Regions from separate parts of the Homo sapiens genome. Here all the other regions are linked to region 1. The links are contacts of gene promoters, found by promoter capture Hi-C in blood cells and fetal thymus (Javierre and others, 2016). All regions are on one chromosome and are shown on one strand. The core of a region is centred on a gene start or on the middle of the fragment in contact, and the rest is flanking DNA. Distances in the headings are between cores, read along the strand shown. Region 1 holds the start of ANKMY2 (ankyrin repeat and MYND domain containing 2). Region 2 overlaps KLHL7 (kelch like family member 7). Region 3 holds the start of PHF14 (PHD finger protein 14).

Region 1 (4,767 bases), core at 831-3,330:
CCTCTCAAAGACTCAATTTATAAAACTGCTCACTATTTTTCACTTTTAAGAGATCACATGATGGGCCAGGCCCAGTGGCTCATGCCTGTAATCCCAGCACTTAGGGAGGCCGAGGCAGGAGGATCACTTGAGCCCAGGAGTTCGAGAGCAGCCTGGGCAACATAGGGAGACCCCCACCACCCCATCTCTACAAAAAAAAAAAAAAAATCTTTCTAAAGTAGCCGGGCATGGTGGCTCGCACCTGTAGTCCCAGCCACTAGGGAGGTGGAGGCTGCAGAGAGCTGCAACTCCAGCCTGGGTGAAGAGTGAGATCCTGTCTCAAACAAACGAGAGAGAGAGAGAAAGAGACAGCGAGAGCGAGAGAGAGAGAGGACATGTACTAGCTCTGTCCTGCCTAAAAGAATTTTTGTCCCTGGTGGATTGTGAATTGATCCTTTGTCTCCTTTTTGCCCAGCACAGTACCTGGCACACAGCTAGAACTTGCATGTTTGCTTAATTGAATCCCAGAGCCATCAAAGGCAGGGAGAAATTACCTAGAGACAGGAAGAACTGAAAGACTGAAATGCCAAATAGGTCAGCAAGAACCATGCAGTACAACAATCTAAACTCTAACCCAAATCCCCAAATTCCAGGCAAAGAACACATCATTGATAGATATAGCTGTGACTGACTTAGAATAGTTGAGATCAGATCGGGTGGGCTCAGCTCATCAGCACCTGTTGAGTTCAAACCGGAATTTTTTCTCCTTCGCATGTGGAGTTTCCTTGTCGCTATGAAGAATAAATCTGCCTTATTCTCTAGGATTCCACATTTCAGCCTGGCTACTAAGTAAATAAAACTGGAAACTGGGAAGCCTTATGCTGCAATGACTGGCATCTCTGCCATTCGAGGACAAACATGGCTATATTATTATTGAGTTTAAAATCACCACATTAATTGCCCGGAGTCGCACGCATCACCATCCCTGCACCGTGAGGGTGCAGAAGAAGCATGCAGTCACGCTGATGTCACCTGCCAGGTAACGGGACTCGGCAGGGAACTCCTCTGGGACGTCCACTCGGGGACTCCGGGGAAATATGGCTTCTGGCTCGTCCTCGGGGCTCCCCGCTGGGACTCAGCACTGCGGAAGTGGGGCACGCCTTGGGGGAGTGGACAAGAAAGCGCGAAGGAGCGCGATTAGAAGGTCTCATCTGTGCAACGTGGGCCGAGGGGTGGGTGTGGAGGCCTCGCCAATTTCCTTGTCTCTCTAGGGTTCCTGAGGCTGTCGGGGCTTCTGGAAGCCAGGGAGGCCCTGGATACGGAAGTCTCAATGCAGCAAATTACAGACCTAGTTCTGTACCCTTATGAAGAACCCCTCTCCCTAAGGGCGCCCTCCACTCCCAAGCGGGGGCGGGGATCGGCAAAGGATCCAGATCATTCGGCCTGCGGAAGTCTAAAGGGTCATTTAGACACCCGCCTAAGAACCTGAAACTACCAGGACTGACCGCGGTCAAAATCCCTCGGGAGCAGTGAAGAATTCACACACTGGGGTCCACACCCCGGGAAGCTCGCATTAACCTAAGGCGGGGCGTGGAAATCCGTACGTTTCCAAAAGCGGATTTAGAGGCCGAGCCTCTGTAACTACCCCTCTTGTCCCAGCACTGCTTCTGCCTCCCCACCTCTCCGCCCCTGCAACCTTTCCCAGACCAAAGGGAGAAACGCTCTTTCCCGGTTCCAGGCTGCAAACCTTGCAGAACCGCAGCCAAAGGTCACCCAGGCCAGGAGCGCCCCCCGGGCTCCGCCACGCCCCCCGGCCAGGCTGGCCGCGGCCGCGTCGCAGCCCAGCACCCGTACCTTTCCCGATGACTTCCAGTAGCTCCTTCTCCTCCTGGGTCAGCTCGCCTTTCTTTATGTGAACCATTGCTCCCGCCAGCTTGAAGGTTATTCCCTTTCTTAGGGAGTATTAAAAAAGAAACGATGCGTCTGTATTGGGAACGCCAGCCGCAATGAGGCAACTTGAGACCAAGACACTGAGTAGCCAACCGCGGAAACGCTTCGCTTCTCTCCTCCCTCCCGCGGGCTGGCGGACAGCGGGCGAGCTCGGGCGAGCCAGGCGGACGGTCTCCGCAGGCCCTGCGGCGGTCACCGCCTGCCGCCTGTCATTGGCCCTGCCGAGGAGGAGGAGCCGCAGGAGGCGGTAGCGAGAGATCGCCATTGGAGCAACCTGGGAGGACAAAACCAAATGCAGAAAGCTGGAGGGGGGAATTAAATTCCTCCTACACGTTCCGCTCCCCTATCCTGTCCGGTTCAAATATTTCGCCACATGTAATATTGAAAATTCTACAGCTGGCAGTTATGTGCTCAGCGACGGCTTTCTGGGGCATGCAGAGGCCCCAGGTTGTCGCCGTACCCCCACCATTCCCCCGGGAGTGGCGCAGTCTGGGCGGGGGCGGTCTAGGAGACGGGGGCGGTACGGGAGGCGGGGCTGCGCCGGGTTCCGTGTGTCTATGTCAATGTGTCTGTCCTTCACTCCTCCATTGTCTGCCGCCACTGCTGCTGCTGCTGCTGCTGCCGCTGCTGCTGCACGAATCGCCGCAGCCCCCAGCCTTGCGCGTCGTCGCTACCTCCTCGGACAGGTGAGAAGCAGCCCAGGTGAGGCAAGGGGCGCCGTGAGGGTTGCGAGAGTAGCGACTGCCGCCCCGCCGGGGTTTCCATCGGGCAGGAGCTGGCGGGGAGGAAGCATGTGCCTCCTGGGGCGGCTTCCTGCCTCGCGGTGGAGAAGCCCCCGCTCCACCTCATCATCACGGCGCGTACGGGGTATCAGTGCCCTGGGATGAAGACCTCCGACTCGCAACGTTTGGCCGCCTCGGGAGACCCTGGGACCGCGGGCGGGCGGGCGGGGGCCAGCCACGCGGTGGGAAGTGGCGGGTGCACATGGTCTCGTGCGTGGCACCGCCAGATGCGGCTCCCGGGGAGGCTGGGGCCGGGGCTCTGGGCTAGGTAGGGGTCGCAAGGACAGCGCCCCATTACTAGCGAGTCAGTGAGAACAGACTCGGGAGAAGGTAGTTTTTACGCTGGTGATCCTCGCCCTCCCCACTACTTGTCATCTCTTTGGCCTCTGTGGAAGCTGTAGAAGAAAACCTGATCGCCCAATGTTGCTTGTTAAAGATGTTTGGAAACAATTTACACTTGCACTAATACTTCGTTTATGAGAGACAGCCTGTGGGAGGGGGAAGGAAGGGCTTCTTTGCTCTGCTAGAGTTCTCGGTTCTCTTTGTAACTCAGATCTTGAGATTTATGGAAATAGGGAGTGGAGGGTGGGGAGGTTGGAGAGGGCGGAGATTAAATTGGTGTTGCTGCCTATATATAGCCTTAGATTAGCCTCTTAATCCAACCTTCATTCAACTGTAATATGTAGCCTGGAGCTTCGACCATAGGTAGATGGGGGTAAATACAAGTGTGTATTTCAGAATAAGATTTGCTTGCTAAAATGCGGGAATCAGTCATTTCTCCAGGGTGCAGATTTATATTTACATCATCAATGAAAGTTTCTTTGGAAATTAGTGTTTATGTTTTACTGTTGTTTCCCTACAGAGTAGTATTGATGTTTCTCTCAATATGTGTGTCAAAGAGACGTGTATGTGTCAAAGAGAAATATTTGAGTAATTATGTAGGTGGTTTTTGTTAAGCATCCCCAGGACCACTGTTTCTTCTCATAGCGCCATACGAAAAGCGAAATGCATTTTCCTCTGGCCTTAGGCATTTATTTTGCGTGAAGCTTTCACTAACATCTGAAATCTCCTGGAATATGTTTATCATTATTTCCTGCCTTTAGCAAAAATCTTTCCTAAACTCCAGCTGTTTTTCCCCCCTAAAGCTTCAGCATTAAAGACTGGGACAGATCTGAGCCAGAACATCTTACATGAAAATGGTTTGAAATTATTCATCTCAGTGTATAACAAAGATACTTTTGTTGGATGATGCTTTAATAATGATGTGGCTGTTCAAGCAAGTAGTAAGGCTCCTGAGAGTGACCAATCTTTTGTAATGCTGTTAGTTCAGAGTTACAATTGATTTATAACATAGTATCATGCGGAAGAAACCCACAAACCTAAAAAAACAGTTGAGTGGTAACCTCCTGGAACATGTGATTTAGCATCTTACCAGCAGATGCATACACATAATTGGGTACTTCATTGCTAGTATTTCCATCTCTTGTGCCAAATCTGGGCCATGGTTACTTGAAGGTCACACCTGTTTGTCTCACTGGGGTTGTCAGTTCCTCGAGGATAGCAGCTTACTATCTATTTTCTTGATGCCTTATGACACTTGGTTGGTATTTAGTGCTCTCTGAATACATGACCAGTGAATTTAGAGACAATAACGTTGAAAGAGAATCTAACATCTACCTAGAAATGCAAATAAATCATGTTCAGTTTACATTTCTAGAAACAGATTCATAATGGGTACTGTTCATTAGATGGATTGATTACATTAGTAGTTTTGTATGGTGTAAATATTTAATGTAGGGATAAGATTAGATAATGAGCATATTAAAACAGATTCACATCAAAGAAGTTTTATTGATAATAAGATAGCTACTTCATATTGAGTATTTAGTCTGTGCTAGATATTCTACCAGATGCTTTGCATAGAATTATTCTAGTGTTATGACAACCCAGGAATGAGCCAATATTATACCCACTTTGCAAATAAGAGGACAGAAAGTAAGGGAAATAATTTGCCCACAATCCCATATTAGGAAGTGTCAAGTCAGAATTGGAATAA
Region 2 (4,767 bases), core at 253-2,752, 6.5 Mb after region 1:
GTTATTAAGAGGAGCTCTTTGTTCTGTCCTTGGTGTGTGGTGCATTCGTGAAATTCTGCAGCACATCGGCGAAAGGTGGGTTATGAAAAGAACGGATTTTAACGCTGGCGAAGGTGAAACAAAGAGGCTTTTTTTTTTTTTAATTCCATAACATCTACACCGATAAGCATAGAAAGTCACTTTTTCCTTTCTGTAAGCTTTATTTATAGATAATACACATCTAAGTAGATTTGTGGGAATGTTTGGGTTTTGTTGACTGGGATCCTGTTTCAAGGGGACAAAGCAGGATGTGAGTTATGTGTAACTGCAAAACCTAGTTTGCTTTGTCTGGTGGTTCTGCTGGGAATATGGGCAACAGTAGAGGAATTTAAGATTTTTATGAAGATATTAACTTCTGGTTTCTATAAGCAAACGCTGACTGCTGGGATTTTGTCTTTGTTCACCAGCTCCTGCTACAGTGCACCAGTGCAGTCTGTGGGAATGCTTTTAAATCTTTCCTGGCCTGGCCTTTGTGCTGAAGTACTGTGAATGCCTGAATTCGTTAATTTATGTAACTGACTTTCATGTATCTATTTTCAAATTCATGTTCCTTTCATGTAAACCTTTTTGTATCTACAATACCACAGACTTCAAATTGCTGGTGCATTTAGCTATTGCCTGCCTGTAATGGTAGTTGAACATAGTTAACCAGGGCTTAAACTCGTTGAAGACTCATTAGGTTCCCTCCCACTCCCTCGAATATATGTTTTCATTCGTGGATCATAGCATTGTAAAGCATTGCCTTAATCCCTAAATAGGGTGAAACTGGATTGCAGCAGCAAATATTTACTTGAGGAGCAGAGGATTATCTGAGACTGTCCGTTTAGCTCTTTGGATTTAAAAAGTGACTCACATTTCTTAGCTTTGGAGTATATTAACATCACTTATTTACCGTTACAATAGAAGTACAATTACTGAAAAATCAGGGTTCTGTTACTGAGTAGGAAGGAAAAAATGGTTACCTGGTGAACAACCAGGGGTCCCCTCCACAATGATTAACTGACCTTAATCTGCCAGGTTCTCCTGTTGTCAGTGGTTTGGCATGTGATTCAAACAGTTCTCCAATAGCACTTTTATCAACTTCATGGAATCATGCATCTTTTGCAAGATGTGCAGTTTCACTTCGCAATTGATTTACATTATGGTTATATTGTATTGTCCTGTTTAACATCATAACACAGGAAACAATTGACCGAGAATGACTGACAAGGGCAGTTGATGGGAATTGGCAGAAACAGTGGCTGGTCTGAGCCAGAGTAGGAATGTTTGAGTGAGGACCAACTTTATAAGTGCTCTTGTTCTTTAGTAAATATTTTTGTGTTATGACTACTTTTACATCCCTTTACAATCTCATTGCTTTAAGGATCAGGATAATGAGTGCCTAGATGACAAGGACCCCTCTGTAAACATCCAGAAACATTCCTTCAAGAATTTGAGAACATTGTGAGATTAGCATACCTCAGTTCCAATCCTGCTCTCTCATTATTTCATTTTGTTATTTTAGATAACATGATTTGGGTCATTCCATCTCTCTGTAGTATAGTGGCCGATTCTATACATAGAGGCAAAAGGGGATTCTGCAGAGCCAGCAGCCTCGGCTTCTTCTAAAGCCTTTTCCTACATTGTTTTTGTCATTTCTAGCCTTTTGTTTCTAAGTAAACTCTCCAGTGAAGTATGGGATACATATAAGAGGGCACAAATCATAAATGTATAGCTCAATTATTACAAAGTGCACATCCCACCAACAAGACGAGAACATGACCAGTACACCAGAGGTCCCCCCTTATGCCCTTCTCAGTCACCAACCCCACAGTAGTAACAACTATTCTAACTCTGTAACCATCGAAGTTAGAGCAGAAGCAACCATTGATAAATACCATGCCATGCCATCTTCTAAGGGCACTATGCACCCCTGTTATTAAGAGGAGCTCTTTGTTCTGTCTTTGGTGTGTGGTGCATTCATGAAAGTCTGCAGCACATCGGCAAAAAGTGGGTTTTTCCTGTGTTTGAACTTATATAAATGTAATCATATGGCATAAACTCTTGTGTTTTGTTTTCTTAAAGCCAACATTGTTTGTGAGATTCATCTGTGCTGTGTGTAGCGCTACTTCATCCTTGTGGTATATAGTATCCCATTGAATGAATATAGCACAATTTATCCATTCTATCATTATGAACATTTGGGTTATTTCTAGTTTGGAACTATTAAGACTAGTACTACTTTGAACATTTTTGTACACTTTGTACATGCCTTTTGGTATGCATATGTATGTATTAATATTTGTGTTGGGAAATACCAAACAGGAATTTTTGAGTCATAAGCTATACCACCTTCAGCTTTAAAAGATATCGTCGTGTAGTTTTCCAAAGTGATTGTACCATGTTACGCTTCTGCCAGTTGTGTGTGAGAGAGGTTTTTGCTCCGCATCCCTGCCATCACTTGATGTTGTCAGTCTTATCACTTTAGCCATTCTAACTGGGTGTATAGGAGCATCTTATTTAATTGGATTGAGTACCTTTTCATTTATTTCTTTAACTTTTTGCTTAGATTAATGTTATTACCTGATATGTAAAATAGAGGCTTTACAAGGCAGGTCTGGGTCACAGTCACTATTGCACATGCACATTGCTGTTGCCATACTCTTCTTTTGTGTTAATGAAGTCCAGGAGTCTCTTAACATTGGAGGAAGATGTTTTAAGACCTTCCTGAGTACCACCATAGTTTATAGTTTCTCCACATTAAATGAATTAAAGCATAACTGGAACTTGAAAGCTTATGTTAAAGTCCTTATTGAGAGTTATGTGAGAGAACTACAAAGCTGATTTCACAATTAGATACTGGGCAGTTAACTGGGCTCACCTTCCGGCTAAAATGACTTTGCTTCTGTATTCTCATCTGTCTGACTGTAAATTACTACATGTCATTATCTTTAGGTTCTCTTGTGAATAATCTAAACCTTCAGTGTTAAACCCTTGATATTAATAAGACTTCTTGAGCACTTATAACTGTTCCAGCCACTCTGCAGAGTGTTTTACATGCTTTGTCTCATTTAATTCTCTTAACTTTCATTGACAATTCCAGTCATCCAGACCTTCTTATTCTTTTTCCTGTACTTTACTGTTTTCTGTTTTCTTTTTCTGTCTGTCCAGCTTAGAAGCTATTGTCACTCCACTGTCTCTCCAGTGTCCCAGTTTTCTTGACCCTCTGTCCCTTTTTCATGTCCATCTGGCAAACTTGAGTATTGATGACTGATTACCTTCTTTGTGCAAGGCTCCAAGCACAGCTGGAAAATATCTCACTGGGCAACTTCTGCCAAGTAAGTGCTTGGCCACTAATTTCCACTAGACTATCAGTGCCCGTGAGCAATCTTTTTGTTTTACTATTTTCCTCCAATCTGAGTCCTTTCTCTAGATCCTCACTTTCAGCAGATCACCTTCTTTTGACACCATAGATAAATAGAAGTCATTAGTCTAGAACTGTCTACCTTTTCACTTTCTACCACCAGATCTATAAACCTATTTTGACACTTTCCCTTTTCTCTTCTTATCCTGCTACAATGGAGATGCTGCTGCTTTTTCTAAGGCCAGTACTTCTACCTAGGCTTTGGCTTCCTGGATGCTGGGCTTCTCAGAAGTATTATACTGTTGGTTATTCCATCTTTGTTGAGCATCTTTAACTTTTCTTCTTTGCTGGATTCTTGCTATTAGCACTTAAGCTTGTTTTAACCTCTCCAGCTTTTGAACCAAACAACCAGCAAACCCATTCTTAATCTCAACATACCCCTCTAAATACTTCTCTCCCCCCATTAAGATGAAAAGCTGAGTAAATTCACTACATTTTCTTTTGTTTTTTTTTTAATTTTATTATTATTATACTTTAAGTTTTAGGGTACATGTGCACAATGTGCAGGTTTGTTACATATGTATACATGTGCCATATTGGTGTGCTGCACCCATTAACTCGTCATTTAGTATTAGGTATATCTCCTAATGCTATCCCTCCCCCCTCCCCCCACCCCACAACAGTCCCCAAAGTGTGATGTTCCCCTTCCTGTGTCCGTGTGTTCTCATTGTTCAAGTCCCACCTATGAGTGAGAACATGCGGTTCACTACATTTTCTTACTTACTATTTATTTATTACTCTAGTTCAATTTGGCTTCCAAGTTCATTCATTGAAATGAATACTTATTGACAACCCACTGTATGCTAAACATTTTGCTAGATTCTGGGGTTGCAATGATAAGCAAACCCTGACAGTCCCAATCCTCTTGTGGTTTATAGGCTAGTAGAAAAGCAAGACATTAGTCAAGTAATCACACAAATAAATGTAATATTGCAACAGTGGTAGGTATTACACAGGAGAATAACATGGTACAACGAGGGCATATGGGTGGGTAATTTGACCATCAGGAAGTTTTCTCTAAGGAAATGGTCATTGAGAGCTGAAATAAGAGTAGGTGTTAACTAGGTAAAGAGAAAAGGGAAGAGTGACTCAAGTAGAGGGAACAACATATTCAGAGGCTCTGAGTTGGAGACCTACTTTATTATAGAATGGCAAGTTCGAGACTGATTAAAGGTCAGTGTAATTGGAGCACAGAACATAAGGCGGACGATGGTTCTAGATGAAACTGGCGAAGTAGCTAGAGACCTGCCCATGCATAGCTTCATAAGTCAAGTTAGGTGATTTGCCCTTATTCTAAAATCTGTGTATGCATGTTTGTGTGCATG
Region 3 (4,767 bases), core at 940-3,439, 5.7 Mb before region 1:
CAACAAAACTGTACTCATGTTAGTTTCTTAGTTTTGATAAATGTATTATGGTTATATAAGATACTGATATTAGTGGTAGCTAGGTGAAGGATGTACAAAAACTCAGTATTATTATTGCACTTTTTGGTAAATCTGAAATTACTTCAAAATTAAAAGTTAAAAAAAAATGATTGCTGATATCCAATGGCCACAGGTTTGGAAAACTAGAAAGAATTCTTATCCACTCTTGGTGGTATATATATTAGTACAGACTTTTTTTTTTTTTTTTTTGAGACGGAGTTTCACTCTTGTCACCCAGGCTGGAATGCAGTGGCGTGATCTCTGCTCACTGCAACCTCTGCCTCCCAGGTTCAAGTGATTCTCCTGCCTCAGCCTCCCAAGTAGCTGGAATTACAGGTATGTGCCACCACGCCCAGCTAATTTTTGTATTTTTAGTAGACACGGGGTTTCATCATGTTGGGCAGGCTGGTCTCGAACTCCCAACCTCAAGTGATCCACCCGCCTCAGCCTCCCAAAGTGTTGGGATTACAGGCGTGAGCCACCGCACCCGGCAGTACAGTTTTTCTAGAGCAACTAGGTGTTATTTATTAAAGTAAATGAATTAATACATTTTGATTCTGAAAATCTCCTTCTAGAAATTAGTTTTACATAAACACGAATGCCAGATTTTGAATTTCTCTTTTAGATGATTCAGCATAATTGCTCCAAATAAATCTAAAAGGCTATTGTCAAACAGTGGAATATTTGGATTTATAATTTCATAGATAAGACTATCAGTCCATGATATGGTTGGTGTTTAAAGTAGAATGGAAGTGAAATTCCCAGAGTGGAGTTTTTAAAATAACCAAGTTCCTAGGATTTTAACTGGAAGAATAAATATCTGAAAGGCAATGAGGAGTATTAAGCATGGGATGCCACTTCTGCACCTTGAGAAAATGAAGTATGGAAGGATGAGTGGTTTTCATTTGAGAGGGCTGCAGGGTAACTGTTTCTATTTCAGATGAGGAGGTAAAAAGAATGGGCATTGAAAAGGAAAAATGTTTACTAAGTAGGTTATACATTTTGGAATAGAAGTTTCTATAGCACAATAGAAAAGTTTGAGAGGTCACATGGCAATGATAGTTTGGGTGAGAGTGAGGCAGGAGAATAGGGTGTGGAGGCAGGGAACCTAAGGATGTGTCACTCCGACTTCCTAAGAACTAAATTGAAAGGAAACCCCTAACTTTCCATGCCTAAGTAACAAAAGGACCAGAGGCTACTCCCTTTGCAAACCCCCACTTTTTCTGCAGGGCAGATGGGAAATTGGCTGTGGGCAGCAAATCAGACTGATTGCAGGAGAGTCTTCCTTTGCATAGAAGTATCACTTTGTAACTTCACCATCTGCAAGAAATCAAACTGATTGCAGGGGAAATCTTCCTTTGCATAGAGGTATACCACTTTGTAACTTCACCCTAGCCTCTGATTGATTGCTTTTTGCACCAATGTTTGCACAGGAGCATGACCTTTGTAACTTCACTTCAGCCTCTGGTTGGCTGCTTTCTGCAACCAATCAGACTGATTGCGCGTTACTTCATTTACATGAGGTGAGCATTAGGTGGCCAATAGGAAGCTTCTAGAGGGTATTTGGACTCAAGATTCTGTATCCGGGCCCTTGAGCCGCTGCTCAGGTCGCTTCCGTACAGAGCGTGCTTTAATTTTCAATAAGTCCCTGCTTTTGTTGTTTTGTTGCTTCATTCTTTCTTTGCTTTGCTGGGCGTTTTGTCCAATTCTTTGTTAAAAACGCCAAGAACCTGGACAACTTGCAGTCACGATCCTCTACCGGTGACAATATCATTTAAATATTGGTAGTGGCTTAAGGTAGCAAACATCCCTTTGTGGAACGTTTACTCAGTAAATCCTTAAAAAACAGATCAGAAACAAAAACTGGCCTCCCAGGGATTTGGACTCAGGAGGTGAATTAGGCGCGGAGAGGGCGGAGCCTTTGGGGTTTATGGGCGGAATTGCACAGGGTTTGGCGGGGATCTCTGCTCCGCCTTGGCACTACTCGGCTCCGCTCGCCTCCGCGCGGCTCCCTGGGCTTTCACTCGGCTCTGTTCGGCTCCTGCTCGGGAAGGGTGCGCGGGGGCGAGTCCTGCGCATGCGCCCTCAATTCCTGCTGCTCTCAGGGCTGCGCTCAGCCTCGTGTTTTCACTTCCTTTTCAGAGCTGTATCCGGGTCGCTGCTTTCCCTATTGTCTGAGGCAGCCGCCCTCGCGCTGTGCAATTTCTGGTCTTTCGTTGCTTCTGGTCCAGGCTAATAAAGTTTTTCTTTCTTTAATTTTTTTTCTTCTAGTTTTAACGGGAGAAATTAACTCCCCGGGGCCGCCGGGTTGACTGCGCTGCCTGGGCCGGAGGTCTTCTCCGGCCAGGGAGCGCTGTGGGAAGGGGCTCGAGCGGCCAGGGCCAGGCGAGGCCGGGGGGGCGGGGGGTTAGGGGACCGCGGGGCTACTCTTGGGAGCGCCCCTGTCCGGCTGGCTGCGCGCCGGTTTTAAATAGCATCTTTCGGACTTGTCTTCGCGGCCCCAGTCCCCGACCTCGGCGCTGCCTGGGCTCCTGCAGCCTCTCCCTAAGTCTTCTCCAAACGACCACCTCACGGATTCCTTAGTAAGTGTATCCGAGGCCTCTGCGGCGAGAGGTCCATTTCAGCCATTCTAGAAGTCAGGGCCGGTGGGAGCAGGGCAGGGGTGGGAGAGTCCTGCGGGAAAGCAGGATTGGTGGACCCTCGCCCTCCATGGTCCGCGGGAATGAAGCCCGCTTGTTTTATTCCCTGATTTTTGCCGTTTTTATTGACTGTTACGATGTCTAAGTGGGGGATTACGAGGAAGGTGCAGAAACATCTCGAAAAGATGAGCAAGAGGGTCAGCTTCGATTTTAGCTGGTCTGAGTTGGCGTTGGCAGCATCAGGGCTGGAGCTGCCTTTGAAACTGCCCGTGGAGCTGTCCAGCCCTCCCCACCCTGCTTCTGCACCCCAACCTTCTCCTGACCCCTTTTGCTGAGAACTCAGTTAGACAAAAATTCCTTGTGCGAGGTCATCTTTATGTTCTCTTAGCACCACAACTCTCCCCTGTGTTTGGTGTGATTATGAATGACAATGTAATTTTTTTCTCTTCACAGTGGATCGCAGCTCCAAGAGGAGGCAGGTGAAGCCTTTGGCAGCTTCTCTGCTGGAAGCTCTTGATTATGATAGTTCAGATGACAGTGATTTTAAAGTTGGAGATGCCTCAGGTAAATATTTCCTTCTCTCTTCCCCTTTCCCAGCTTTCTGGAGTTAGGCTTATTTTTAGACTTTTTAAATCGGTTTTGATTAAAATGCCAATTTTAAGTGAAAGCACGTAAACTTCATTTATTTTGTCCATTTGATTTCCCATTTTGCCTTTAGATCCTGTCACTAGACCTATAATTGCTTCTGTTTTCCTCAGAGATAATTAGCAGTCAGGGGAAGGACTTTTTCCAAAGATGCAAAAGGATTTCTCTGTTTTACACCTTAAAATATATTTATGCTTATATTATAGAGGAAAAAACTGAAAGATATCCCGAAGTAGAAAAGTATCCTGAGAGGTGTGTGGACCATTAATAGTCCCTGAGCAGGGTTCTTCTTTTTTCAGATCACTTGACAATCTCTTAGGGGAGTTTTGCTTTTTTTGTGTATTAGCTCTTTTACTAGAATAAAATTGACCAGAGTAAGAGTTGCACTTCAAATTATAGTAGGTGCTGGACCTTGTGGATTGGGCCTTTCAGATGTCTCTGAAGTATAAGTCATGCATGCTTGCTCACTATATTTAGTAATTTTAAAAACTTTTTTTAAAGGTCGTATATTCACATTGTACTAAACTGGAAAACAGAAAAGTATGATTTTCCTTTGTATTTTCTGTTCAGTGTACCTTATGTATATATACAGTTTCAATTGAAGGAATCTGAGAAACAAAAATTATGTTTAATTTAAATGTTTTATGGGAAAAATACTGATAAACATGAACAATGAAAATTATGTGTAATTCCACCTCTTTTGAAAATTTTAATAAAGTGAGATGAAAATTTAAATAAAATGAGAAGTAAAAGCCTTTCCAGTTTCATCTCTTCAACAGTTTTTAAATATACTTCCAGAGAGTTTGCCGTGGTTAGTCACATCTCTCCTTCTTCTGGTTTTCCCTTGTCTTTTTCCTGCTAGGGATAGTAGGAAGGGATGAACGAAATTATATTACTGTTGCTACTTTTAGTAGCATCAACAGCAGAATTTGCATTGTGATTTACTGATAACTTTTTGTTTGCATAATCTCACTTAATTTTCACAGTAACTTAGTGAAGGAGATACCATTTTACAGGTAACAGGGGTATTGAGTTTAAAGAACTGGCATGAGGTCACTCAGGCAGTAACGGATCCAATGGATTTGACTTCAGAATTTAGTCTGTTTATCTGCTTGGATCCCAAGAGTTGATGGACGGAATCTTAAACAGAAACTGACTATTTGGTTACTAATTGAATTCATCCGCAGCAATCAAAAATTGATAAGTTTATCTTGATTAACTGTTTTTTTATCCTTTGCTTCTCAGCTCTTTATCTCCCATTTAGTTGGTTTGCTGATATTTGGTATTTCCAAAGAAGGGAAGGGGAAGGGAAAGGAGGTAAAATTTAAATCTTAGTTCTCTTGGTAAAGACCTTGGCAGATAAGAATATTCCTGGCTAGGATGTAGTTTTGGTTTGTTATGGTTGTGGTTGTAAACTTTGACA

The links. Contacts are between HindIII fragments. The CHiCAGO score rates a contact against its expected background, and 5 or more counts as called.
Region 2: a contact is called between a fragment that was not itself captured here and the fragment with the promoter of ANKMY2 in region 1, in 1 of 17 cell types (non-activated CD4 T cells). The highest score is 5.6, in non-activated CD4 T cells.
Region 3: a contact is called between the fragment with the promoter of PHF14 here and the fragment with the promoter of ANKMY2 in region 1, in 4 of 17 cell types (naive CD8 T cells, total CD4 T cells, non-activated CD4 T cells and 1 more). The highest score is 8.9, in naive CD8 T cells.

The regions. Positions count from the first base shown.
Region 1 is chr7:16,643,674-16,648,440 of GRCh38, forward strand. It overlaps ANKMY2 (ankyrin repeat and MYND domain containing 2), which reads right to left and starts at 2,081. Exons shown (of 10, transcript NM_020319.3): 1 at 1,834-2,081. The coding sequence starts at 1,900. It overlaps BZW2 (basic leucine zipper and W2 domains 2), which reads left to right and starts at 2,508. Exons shown (of 12, transcript NM_014038.3): 1 at 2,508-2,615. RefSeq lists enhancers at 2,208-2,487, 4,682-4,767. The HindIII fragment of the contact is 5,140 bases long and covers 1-3,755 here.
Region 2 is chr7:23,106,720-23,111,486 of GRCh38, forward strand. All of the region lies in intron 1 of KLHL7 (kelch like family member 7), which reads left to right. Among named protein-coding and RNA genes, the nearest start is that of KLHL7, 3.3 kb to the left of the region's middle. RefSeq lists enhancers at 1-227, 1-12. The HindIII fragment of the contact is 2,615 bases long and covers 196-2,810 here.
Region 3 is chr7:10,971,683-10,976,449 of GRCh38, forward strand. PHF14 (PHD finger protein 14) reads left to right here and starts at 2,190. Exons shown (of 18, transcript NM_001007157.2): 1 at 2,190-2,642; 2 at 3,153-3,263. The coding sequence starts at 2,642. RefSeq lists silencers at 1,385-1,434, 1,945-2,004, 2,985-3,034 and an enhancer at 1,960-2,254. The HindIII fragment of the contact is 4,357 bases long and covers 1,608-4,767 here.